3 separate regions of the Homo sapiens genome follow, and regions 2 and 3 are each linked to region 1. Evidence: promoter capture Hi-C in 16 types of primary human blood cells and fetal thymus (Javierre and others, 2016). All regions are on one chromosome and are shown on one strand. Each heading gives the region's core, a stretch centred on a gene start or on the middle of the fragment in contact. The rest is flanking DNA. Distances are from core to core; before and after follow the strand shown. Region 1 holds the start of ZNF615 (zinc finger protein 615). Region 2 holds the start of ZNF606 (zinc finger protein 606). Region 3 holds the start of VN1R1 (vomeronasal 1 receptor 1).

Evidence for each region. Contacts are between HindIII fragments. The CHiCAGO score rates a contact against its expected background, and 5 or more counts as called.
Region 2: a contact is called between the fragment with the promoter of ZNF606 here and the fragment with the promoter of ZNF615 in region 1, in 1 of 17 cell types (non-activated CD4 T cells). The highest score is 8.7, in non-activated CD4 T cells.
Region 3: the fragment with the promoter of VN1R1 here is called in contact with the fragment with the promoter of ZNF615 in region 1 in 1 of 17 cell types (non-activated CD4 T cells); the score reaches 5.6 in non-activated CD4 T cells.

The regions. Positions count from the first base shown.
Region 1 is chr19:52,006,179-52,010,204 of GRCh38, forward strand. ZNF615 (zinc finger protein 615) reads right to left here and starts at 2,033. Exons shown (of 7, transcript NM_001199324.2): 1 at 1,963-2,033; 2 at 1,115-1,152. LOC124904755 (a long non-coding RNA gene) reads left to right here and starts at 2,120. Exons shown (of 2, transcript XR_007067321.1): 1 at 2,120-2,301. RefSeq lists enhancers at 1,794-2,403, 2,464-2,543. The HindIII fragment of the contact is 6,775 bases long and covers 1-4,026 here.
Region 2 is chr19:58,000,965-58,004,990 of GRCh38, forward strand. ZNF606 (zinc finger protein 606) reads right to left here and starts at 1,856. Exons shown (of 7, transcript NM_001348022.3): 1 at 1,432-1,856; 2 at 325-406. The coding sequence starts at 355. ZNF606-AS1 (ZNF606 antisense RNA 1) reads left to right here and starts at 1,930. Exons shown (of 4, transcript NR_036508.1): 1 at 1,930-2,082; 2 at 2,247-2,372; 3 at 3,419-3,736. RefSeq lists an enhancer at 1,788-2,207. The HindIII fragment of the contact is 14,498 bases long and covers 971-4,026 here.
Region 3 is chr19:57,454,864-57,458,889 of GRCh38, forward strand. VN1R1 (vomeronasal 1 receptor 1) reads right to left here and starts at 2,277. Exons shown (of 1, transcript NM_020633.4): 1 at 1-2,277. The coding sequence starts at 1,623. The coding sequence ends at 562. The HindIII fragment of the contact is 5,648 bases long and covers 1-2,710 here.

The DNA.
Region 1 (4,026 bases), core at 783-3,282:
TACATTTAAAATAAAATTGCTGATGGTAGTTCAGTAATATAAGTTTACGGCTTTAAATGTTTTCATTAATAGAAAAAAGAGAGAAACCAGGCGGGAGGAAGGGAGAGAAAAAAATGAATATAAATACAAATTTTACAAAAGACAAAACCAAAAATAATCCTCAGAGATAATCGTGAGGAAAAGATGTTTAACTCCTCTTTTGGCCAACAAGTAAAGCGACACAAGTTATGCCAATCACACAATGAGCAAGAAGCAGAATCAGGGCTGAAAATCCACTTTTGTTTCACTTCAAAATCCACTTTTACTCTACTTTATACCGAACCAAAATTATCTGTAAATCAGATGCCTCCCTATTAAGTAAATAAATAAAGCAATTAAAGGGCTATTAGTAGAATTCTAGTTAATCATATACAGAATTATTTAGAGGAATGGTACTTATGTCTGTAACTTACTTTGAAATATACCAAAATCGACAACAAATAAGGAATGATTCACAAACAGAGGAATGGATGAATACTTAGAAAACCAGTAGAGCTGATCTAATACAATGTTAATGGTAAAAGCTAGGTGGTAGGCATATTGGTATTAACATTAAACTTCTTTCAATATTTCCATAGGTTCAAAAATTTTCACAAAATAATATGTTAGGCAGAGAGAAAAATATTGTAATACTAAGAATTAAGATGACCAAATATAAAATAAATATTTAAAATTAATTTATCTTTTGTTATAGATTATAAGGAAAGGGGAGTCAGAAAGCAATACACTGCAATAAAAGTAATAGTCTAGATTGAAGATTAAAGGCAGGAAAAACAAAATTCATGGATAAATGGATAATCATAAAATGTTCCTAAAAATAATACCTAAACATTTTAAAACATTTCACTTCTATCCAAATGTACGCATAAACTTAATGTGAATGCACTTATAGTACCACCGGCTCAAACAGTAAAAACAACTTCTAAATGTTTATTACATAATATAAAGCGAAAAAGATAATAGTACCATTTACATAATTTATCTGAATTATGAATATTAAGCACATAACATACACGTCTAAAATTGAAATATTCTGAAAATTTGACAAAGGTTATCTTTGAGTAACCGAGCTTACCATGGCAGAGATGTTATCTTACTTGTGTCAGAAAGAACCTGAAAAGAAATATCCAAGAGGATACGCTGGAAACTTGCAGGACAAAGGGTAGAAGCCGCATCTTAAATATAAAACATACTACTTTTAGGTATGCTAGATGACTGATCTCGCCAAAAACTTCCATTTCTGAGGATTCAAGACCAAGGGGTGATGGAAGGTGCCAAAGGGGATTTAAAAACCAGTCGTGGAGAAGGGTCTTGGGCAGAAGGGGAATGCTAATGAGCATCAATTCTGTTCCAGCAGCCAGGGCTGGGGCTAACCCATCACCTGCCATGGTTCCCAGGCCTCCAGAGCTGCAGCCCACATCGGAATCTGTGGCGCTACCACCACCGCCACCGGGATTAATTCCAAAACCTGGATCAGAAACCTCCGTACCTTAACCCCCAAGACAGTTCCTCAATCATTTAGTCCCAAACAAAACCTGAACCATAAACCGATTCGCTGACAAAACAAACCCTCCAGTTCGCAATCACTGAGCCCCGCCAAAGGACAACACCAAAGACACCAGAATGTGACTTGGGCACTCAGTAGCGGATCTCTAGAGATCTTTAACCACAAACTACACGAGGACCCTGTGACTGGTCCCAGAGGTACCCCGATCACACACACACACACCCTATCACGGACCTCTTGTAGTTCCCCTGCGATAGGAATCGGACCCACGCTAAGCTCCTGAAAGAATTCCACTGGCGTCGCCAAACGCTGGCGCCGACAGATACCAGTCCATCACCACTGTCCACGAACACGCCCAGCCACGGACAGAATTTCCTCCCCCGTCACCACAGCGACCACCCAGTGACTGAACTTACTTCCCAGAACTTGGTGGGCTCCGGCCTCATCTCTCGGCCTCCTCAGTGCCTGACGGCGACTATCCAGGGTCGGAGGCGTTCCCAGCGTTTGCGCAGATGCAAGATGGCCGCGCCCTCGTCGCCTTGGCTCCATGGGGGCCGCCATCTTTGAGTATCTGACGTACACAAGGCAAAGGGCGCGTTTTGGCGCTGGTGACCGGGGGTGACCGGGGGTGACCGGGGATGGCCGGGAAGATGAAAGAGCACTGAAACTGTCCCATTTCCTGGCACCTCAACCCTTCATAAATACGGGTCCATATACAGAGGCTCCAGTTTACACAAGACAAAAATGGCGTGGAGGTAAATCCCTTTCAGCAGCTGAATAGAAGGCTAAGATGGCCGCGACGTTTACACTTTGTACAAAGGTTAGGAAACAGTTCCTTGTGAGGGAAAAGGAGAACCGGCCGAGAGGGGACACTTCGGCCAAAGCCAGATTTCTAACAAAGTAGCTTGAAGCGCCTTTTGAACGCAGAAGAGGGCTGTTAGCTACGCTGACGGAACAGGGGTAGCAGTCACAGACTAGGTAATGAAAACGGTTGGAACGTGCCAAAATTATGTTGGGTGAAAGGCATGGGGAAAAGCCAGTAAAAGCCAGAAAGTATAGTTCCCAAGGCGGAGGGGAGAGCCTGGGACCCAGGTGGAGCCAAATATGAGGGCTGGACTCAGGAGAAGTGGCCAGAAATTAAGGGAACAGGACCACTTCAGTGAGAAAAAAAAGGTTGGGAAAGAGGCCGGGCGCGGTGGCTCACGCCTGTAATCCCAGCACTTTGGGAGGCCGAGGTGGGCGGATCACCTGAGAGCGGGAGTTCGAGACCAGCCTGACCAACATGGAGAAACCCTGTCTCTACTAAAAATACAAAATTAGCCAGGCATGGTGGCGCATGCCTGTAATCCCAGCTACTCGGGAGGCTGAGGCAGGAGAATCGCTTGAACCCGGGAGGCGGAGGTTGCTGTGGGCCAAGATGGCGTCATTGCACTCCAGCCTGGGCAACAGGAGCAAAACTCCATCTCAAAAAAAAAACAAAAGAAAGAAAGGTTAAGAAGGAGATCACGTTATACTACGTGTGCCAACCGCGAATAGTATGTGCAAAGTCATGGCAATGCTGAACTGTAAATATAAATCCAACCAAACTTCCTATATTAGAAGAATGAGAGAAAGGAAATGCCTGTGTGAATCTATGTGTGTGATATAGGTATCAGTATATAAATATACAGAGAAATTGTCAAACTATTTTTCAGAGTCAAGTTCGTGTTCCATTTGCTCTTCTCACCCTTGGTATATGAGAGTTTTTCTTTTTTTTTGTTTTTTTTTTGTCTCTTTTTGAGGCAAGGTCCACTCTGTTGCCCAGTCTGGAGTGCCTGGGGAGATCACAGCTCACTGTAACTTGGAACTCCTGGGCTCCTGAATAGCTGGGACTACAGGTGGGCACCACCACACCTGGCTAATTTTTTAATTTTCTGTAGAGACAAGGGTCTCACTATGATGCCCAGCTGGTCTTGAACTGGCCTCAAGCAGTCCTCCCACTTCATCCTCCAAAAGTGCTGGGATTACAGGTGTGAGCCACTTCACCCTTCACCCGGCCTATAAAGAGATCTGAAAAGAAATAAGAAAAAAGATGGGCGCGGTGGCTCATGCCTGTAATCCTAACACTTTGGGAGGCCAAAGCGGGAGGATTGCCTGAGTTCAGGAGTTTGAGATCAGCCTGGCCAACATGGCGAAACCCCATAGCTACTAAAATACAAAAAAAATTAGCTGGGCATGGTGTCTCAGGCCTGTAGTCCCATTTACTTGGAAGGCTGAGGCACGAGAATCGCTTGAACCCAGGAGGCAGAGGTTGCAGTGAGCCAAGATCATGCCACTGCACCCCAGCCTGAGAGACAGAGTGAGACTCTTGTCTCAAAAAAAAAAATAAATAAAAATAAGGAAAAGATGATCAACTTAAAAGCTCCCTAAAATTTTCTATAAATACATGAAGGAAATAAACAGGACACTTTTTTTAATGTAAATGATCCTAAACAATTTAA
Region 2 (4,026 bases), core at 606-3,105, 6.0 Mb after region 1:
AAAACAATAAAGGTAAAAATATATATGAGAGCAGTAGAGACAATATTTTATTATATGTATCACTGTTGTTTAGGAAACCCCACAAACCACCAGAAAAATCCCTTAAAACTAATGACACCTCTCAGGAGATGACTATAAAACATAAAAGTTAGTGTCTTTTATGCCAACAATTTTCCTCCTTTACCACCAATCAGTTCTAATTTTGTACCAAGATAGACAGACCCCCTTCCATCCTCAAAAGTCCTCAGCCCATCACCAGCTCTGACCCATGACTGCAGCAGCTAATGATAGGGGAGGCCCAGGAGAAACACAACTTGGACTCACCCCAGGAGGCCCACGGGTTGATGGCTGCCATCCCGAGGACTGATTGACCAGGCACCTGCCCAGGAACACAGCAAATCCCAACCTAGTGACAAAAGTGAAAAAAGACAAAACTAGTCCTTTCTCACAGAAGACCAAGTGGGAACAAAGAAGGGAATCCATCCACCGAAGCAACAAAAAAACTTGTAAGGAGCATCGTAAGAAAAGAGAATTTACATGTCAAAAAAGTAACACAATTCCTGGAGAGAAATGAAAGGTAATTTGCATAAGCTGGAAAAAAGAGCATGATCCTGAATGAGAGGGTACAAATTTGTCAGCTATTCCCAAGAGACAGCCAGTCACAACACAGATGGAACTTTTGGATTAATCTGACAATTATTGTAAAATCAACTTGCAATCCTCATATATTAGTGGTTGCCTAGAGCTGGGGGAAAAATGAAATGGGGAGTGACTGCTTAAGGGGAACAAGGGTTTCTTTGTGGGGTGATGAAATGTTCTAAAATTAGATAATGGGGATGATTGCACAACTTTATTAATATACAATAAAACCGGTGAATTGCACACTTTTAAGTGCTTAAAGTGAACATTATGTTATGCAAATTTAATCCCACCTCCAAAAAAAATTCACCTCCAAGATTTACTAAGCCTAAGCTTGTGTGTGTGTGGAGGACTTAGAGATGGGCCTGGCGCCCAGACCCCTAACTCCTCAGGTTCCAGATCTTTGTACAAGTCAGCAACCTCTCGAATGGATTCCTGGGTATGTGTATAAAGCACTAGAACACACAGTGGGCCTCAGGAGCACCGGAATCAGCGCGAAAACGCAGAATGCAAACCGTACTTTGCACCATTATTTGCAACTTGACAGTGACCGCCGCCGTCACTGCATGTTTAAGGGAACCCGGAGCTGTTTCCAACCCAGGTCTGACGTCCTTCACAGTGCTTTGTGTGAACTGGCAGGGGGAGAAACGACGGCTGGGGAACGAACGGGGTTATTCGTCCCATCAATGGCCTCAGAAGCATCCTTATCACCTGCTTCCAGAGCTCCCGACCCAAATTTCCTCCTCAAGACCGACGCGGCCGCGACGCTGCAAAAGCTCGTCCCGGCCTCACCTGGCTCGCGGCCGGCGGTCCCCCTTGAAGGCGGCGCAGCAGGATCGGGGTCTGCCCGCCTGGGGCGTTTGGCTTTTGTCCCGCGCCGAGGTCCGGCCCAGGAGTGCGCTTGGGAGCTCCCGGCGCGGCCTCGGGGACAAAGGCCCGCGGAGCCGACGTGCAGCAGAGTTCACCCAGGCCCGTCCGACCAGAAAACGAAGAACGCCCGGAGGCGGGAGGCCGGAGGCAGGCTGCTGGCTGGAGAACCGACGGCAACGACGGCGCAAAGCCGGCGCGGAAAGGGCAGGCGCAGGACCCACCCTGACGCCGCCTCTCCCAGCCGGCTCTCCTGACCCCCCAAGCCCCGCAGCTACGGCGGCCCCACAGCCTGAGCAAAGGCCTCACCTCAGCCGCGGACAATGGCGGCTGCTTCCCCGGCGTCGACCGGAGCGCGCCGCGGGGTCTGCTGGGAGCTGTAGTTCCAGGCGGGCACTTCCGGCGTCGGGCAGCGGCGCCGCCATGACAGGTTCCTGGGCCGCGCCGCCTCGCCCTGCCTGGGCGGGGTTGGGACCTTTCTGGCACCTGCGTCGAAGCCGGCGGCAGGATGGACTTTGTTGTCCCGGTCCCAGACCACCCTCCTCCACCGTCGCCTCCCACTGCAAAAAGGCCTGGGTAAGTCGCGGCCCCGCGGGCCTCGGTTTGCCCATCCGCAAAATGGCGCCTCGTGGTACCGGGTTTCCCGGGAGGAGCTCGGCGAGTTCTCAGCGCTCTCGAGGGATCCTTCCATTTGGCGTTCGCAAGATTGTGAGAAAGTGACTGCTGTTATTCTCTTTAAGATAAGGAACCTAATTCGAGCTACCCTTCTCTGTGAAGCTCGACGGCTGAGAACGTCAGGGCTCGTTCCCAAGTCTCTTTCCAGAGGCCAGGCTTTATGGGAGCATGGGTTACCAGCGACGCACCCTGTGAGTTTTCCTCTATCGATATGCATGGAGCGGTTCGGGAGCGGTGGCTCATTCCTGTAGTCCCAGCACTTCGGGAAGCTGTGGCGGGAGGATCAGTTGAGTTCAGGAGTTCGACACCACCCTGGGCAACATAGCGAGACCACATCTCTACAAAAAAAATACAAAAATTAGCCCGGTGTGATGGCGCGCGCCTGTAGTCCCCGCTACTTAGGAGGTTGCGGTGGAAGGATTGCTTGAGCCTGGGAGGTCAAGGTTGCAGTGAGCTATGATCGCACCACTGCACTTCAGCCTGGGCAACAGAGCAAGACCCGGCATTAAAACAAACAAAAACGGGCCGGGCGCGGTGGCTCACAGCTGTAATCCCAGCACTTTGGGAGGCCAAGGCAGGTGGATCGCCTGAGGTCAGGAGTTCCGAGACCAGTCTGGGCAACATGATAAAACCTCGTCTCTACTAAAAATACCAAAAATTAGCCGGGCTTGGTGGAGGGCACCTGTACCCAGCTACTTGGGAGGCTGAGGCAGGAGAATCGCTTGAACCCGGGAAGCGGAGGCTACAGTAAGCCGAGATCAAGCCATTGCACTCCAGCCTGGGCAGCAGGGCAAGACTCTGTCTCAAAAAAAGGGACTGAGGGACTGTAGGTGGTGATACCAAAGAAAGCATGGCCATTTAGGAAGCTAGACTTGAGTGAGCAGTGGGCAAGAGAGATTTTGAAGATATTTCCACTAGTAATGGAGGATCATTTTAAAAAGCTGGCCTGTGGGTTGGGCTTTTGTTGTTGGGTGGTGTTGGCACTCACTGTGGGTGGGCAAAGGGGAGTAGCCCTTTCAGAGGGAGAGGAAAAGTTCAAGTAGGACAGGCTGAATTCAAGGGAGAGGAAAATTTCAAGTAGGACAGGCTGAATTCGAGGGAGAGGACCATGAGAGAGGTAAGGTGGAAGGGGCAAGGTGTTGGGACAGGCCCCAGCTGGCAGGAAGGTGAACCCAGTCAGAGTGGGCACTGAGAGGAAAGCAATCTATGGATGGTACAGCCACAATTTCCATCTCAGGATCAAGCAGAGAAAGAGAGGCTGGAGAAGGAAGAGTGACAGAAGTAAGAAGAGAGTGTCTCTCCACTTCCACTCCAGCCCCCTACAGCTCATCCTCCAGCAGGCAGCCAAGGGCACTTTTAGGATCTCACATCAGGTCCTTGCCTCACATTCTGCACTGGCTTCCCAAGTAATTAAAGTAAAATCCAAATTCCAGCTCACAGCTTAGAAAACTCAGCAGGACTGGCCTCTGTCCTATCCCACACCCCACCTCAGTCCCTCAAGCTCATCTCCTGTCATTCCTGCCCATTTCTGGACCCCAGCCACTCCTCAAACAGGGTAAGTCCATTCCTGCTTCAGGGCCTTTGTACGTATTGTTTCCTCTTCCTGGAATCTTCTTCCTTGTACAGCCCCAGGGTTTTCTTTTTTTCATCCAGATCACAGCACAGATGTCACATCCTGGTAACAGCCAGCTGTGACTCATCTCCCTAATTCTCAATTGTATTACTCTCTTTTTATTTTCTTCGTATCGTAACTGATAGTCTCATACAGTACAGAAGCCAAGTTTTAAGATATGCAATCACCAAATACCTGCTACACAAACCTCAATGTTCATATAAAATAAGACT
Region 3 (4,026 bases), core at 1,027-3,526, 5.4 Mb after region 1:
TGTGCCACATGGTTGGCTAATTTTTGTATTTGAGACAGGGTTTTTGCCATGTTGGCCAGGCTGGTCTCGAACTCCTGGCCTCAAGTCATCTTGAGTGGATCACTTGAGGCATTTGGGAGTGCCTCAGCCTCCCAAAACGGTGGGATTACAGGCGTGAGCCACTGTGCCCGGCCTGCACATGTCTTTCTTACATGTGGACTCTCCAGGGGATTTATGCTGTTCAAGAAGCACCTGAATCAAACTGTGCTTTAAAAATATTTTTAAAACATTCCATGATTCTTCATAGTACAAAAATGAGAAATCTCCCCTAAATCTCTAAAGAATTCCCTTTTTAAACTTTTTGATTTCCTGAACTTGTCTGAAGGACTTAACACAGTTATATAGAGTGTTCTTTGTGTAACAGTATCCATGACTTTCATTTTTAGCTCTGGTATTAGATCTTCCTGGACAAGAGCATTACTGGCCATGTGTATGTTGCTATCACAAATAACTAGTAGTTAATATTTCCTAAATCTTAGCAAGAGTTATGATAAATAGCTGAATTCCATGAAGAGAAAAGACTCATGGCATGACAACCAGATTAGGAAAGAGTGTTTTCCTTGTCCTGCAGGCAAAACAGAACTGAGAGATATGAGTATCACTCATGATGAGGACAAAAGGGCTGCGTGCTGGGAAACATGAGGCGACCAACACAGAGTTGGTCACTATCCACTGGCCTGGGTTTGCAACTACAGTTGTCCAAATTGTCAGAAAACTATGGACTGAATAGAAAACAAAAAAGGAGCTCACCAGGACCATGATGGTGTGTGTGGCTCTGGCTTCCTGGGAAGGTCTGCAGGAGAGTCTGTTGCTGTGATTGTGTTGGACTTGCTGCTTGTGTCTGTAGAGGAAGAAGACCATGGAGCCACTGGCCCAGACCATGAAGCCCAAACTCATAAAATCAGGGGAAAAATATAAGACTGCATGTAATGAGCTAAATCTCTTTGATGCTTTGTAAGAACAGTATCCATAATTGTTTTTTGCACTACTGTTTTTGCTATTCAGTGGGCCATTCACTAATAGAAGAACAGATGCATTCATCAAGACATGGGGGGCCCAGCAGAGGAGACAACAGAAGTCAATAAACCTTGGGGATCTAATCTTGATCTCCATCCACCTGCATATACTGGGGTTGAGCTTAATGGCTTGGAATCCATTGAGAAGGCAGATGGTGCTGAGGGAAACTCTTGTGCCCACCCTGTGATAATAAAAGACAAACTTACATCCAGTGTCATTCAGCAAATATTTCAATCCAAAAGCTGCCATTGTCTGAGGTATCCCTTTAAAGAAAAGGACCATGGAGTTAGCCAAGGCCAGTTGGCTGAGAATCAAGTCCGTGGGTCTCAGCTTGTGTCCAGTGAACAAAATTAAGTTATAAAAACAAAGGAGAAAGGAATTTCCCAGGATCCCAACTCCAGTCTGAATGAGGAAGCTAATCCCTGATTTTACTTTTCCAAAAGCCATTTCATCAAAATCTAGGGGATGTTGATTTTCATTGAGGTCTGAAGAATCAGTAGAATAAAAAAGCAGAAAGAAGTATCTTGTCATCAGTGGAGACAGAAGTTTTAATGTGTCTCCAACCATATTTTCTCATCTTAAACAGAAATTAAGATTGTCCCTGTTCGTGCAAAGGCAATTGCTTGTGTGTCCAACTGCAGAGAAGCAGGTGAATGAATGAGGGCTCAACCGCACAACAGATCCACAAATCAAACCTATAAAACTCAGGGCTTACACACATGCAACAAGTAAATACAAGCAAAACTAGGGAAATATATAAAAACAGAACACAGAAGAGTCAATATCATTAGAGTGATATTATACTATAGTTTGCAAAATGTAATCATGACGGAACCCTGGGTAATATGGACAGGGCTTTTTCTGTATTATTTCTTATGACTGCTTGTGAGTCTACACTTATTTCAATAAAACCTTCAATTAAGTAGCCTGGAGATATGAAAAGCAAAAATAATACACCATAAAACCTTTTCCACACTAATATTTTAGTAAACACCATTGTTATTGATGCATTGAAACAAATTTTAGGCCGGGTGCAGTGGCTCACACCTGTAATTCCAGCACTTCGGGAGGCCAAGATGGAGACCATCCTGGCCAACATGGTGAAACCCTGTCTCTACTAATAATACAAAATACTAATAATACAAAAATTAGCCGGGCATGGCGGCGCGTGCTAGTCCCAGCTACTCGGGAGGCTGAGGCAGGAGAATCGCTTGAACCTGGGAGGCAGAGGTTGCAGTGAGCTGAAATCAAACCATTGCCCTCCAGCCTGGGCGACAGAGCGAGACTCTGTCTCAAAAAAAAAAAAAAAAGAAATTAAAAAAACGCTACAATACAATTGGTAACAAGGCCTTCAGCACAGTACAAATGCTAACTTGAAGAATTTTTAAAAACTATAATTTTTGGAACAATCAACATTGCATCATGGTATATTTTATTTTAAGCACATATATTTCTGTTATTTTCCACCGGACAGGTCTAGAGATTGTGAATTGACTCCGTAGAAATAACCATGACCACCTTGAGCCCACACATTTTTATCTCAATGCCATTTCTCACAAGTAAATGCAAAAGATCCTGAAAATAAATACTAATCCCAGAAACACCTAAGATATCCTTAAAACTTGTTAAATAGGAAATTCAATATGTTCCAGAAAGCTTGGGTTTATTTTTAGGGAAAGATAATTCAATTGGGAGGGAATTTCATTGCACAATATTCATATATATCAATCACAAAAGAAATAGTAACTGCGGCCAGGCACGGTGGCTCACGCTTGTAATCTCAGCACTTTGGGAGGCTGAGGCGGGTGGATTACAAGGTCAGGAGATGGAGACCATCCTGGCCAACATGGTGAAACCCCGTCTCTACTAAAAATACAAAAATTAGCTGGGTGTTGTGGTGCGTGCCTGTAGTCCCAGCTACTCGGGAGGCTGAAGCCTCCTGGGTTCACGCCATTCTCCTGCCTCAGCCTCCTGAGTAGCTGGGACTACAGGCGCCCACCACCACGCCCGGCTAGTGTGTGTGTGTGTGTGTGTGTGTGTGTGTGTGTGTTTAGTAGAGACGGGGTTGCACCGTGTTAGCCAGGATGGTCTCGATCTCCTGACCTCGTGATCCGCCCGCCTCGGCCTCCCAAAGTGCTGGGATTACAGGGATGAGCCACCTCGCCCGGCCATAATTTAGATTCTTTTGGTGTCTCTATGGAATTGCTATCATCAGGGAAAATTATGAGGTATTTTCTCCCATGAATAACTACATCTCTTTAGGGGTGGAGCAATCAATAACACAGCAGTATCAAGATTCTCAGGCGAGAGGTGGCTCACGCCTGTAATCCCAGCAGTTTGGGAGGCCGAGGCTGGTGGATCAGCTGAGGTCGGGAGTTCGAGACCAGCCTGACCAACAGGGAGAAACCCCGTCTCTACTAAAAATACAAAAATTAGTCAGAGGTGGTGGCGCATGCCTGTAATCCCAGCTACTCGGGAGGCTGAGGCAGGAGAATCGTTTGAACCCCAGAGGCGGAGGTTGCAGTGAGCCGAGATCATGCCATTGCACTCCAGCCTGAGCAACAAGAGTGAAACTCGGTCTCAAAAAAAAAAAAAAAAAACTCAGGCTCTGAGGTATGAAAACCTTTTAGATTCCCACAAACCACTTGTTGACAAATGTTTTTCCTATTTATATGAACTCATCATTTATTTTCAAGATAGTTCCTGATTCTTTGCTTTAATCTCTTATTTTGCTCCATTGTCCTAGTTGTATAATTTATTTCCAATATGCATTTGGTTTCCTATTTTTTCAGCTTCTCCTTATAAAGTACCATTTTTACTATGACTATTTTGAAAGCTTCTTGTATGTATAAAGTTAGTGTGATTATTGACTTTAACATACCACCTCCTTCTCCTCCTAGCCTCAGAAAGAAGTGTTGGTAACTGGTGAGAATTTTCAGACAGATTTTCCTTTTTTTTTTTAATTTAATT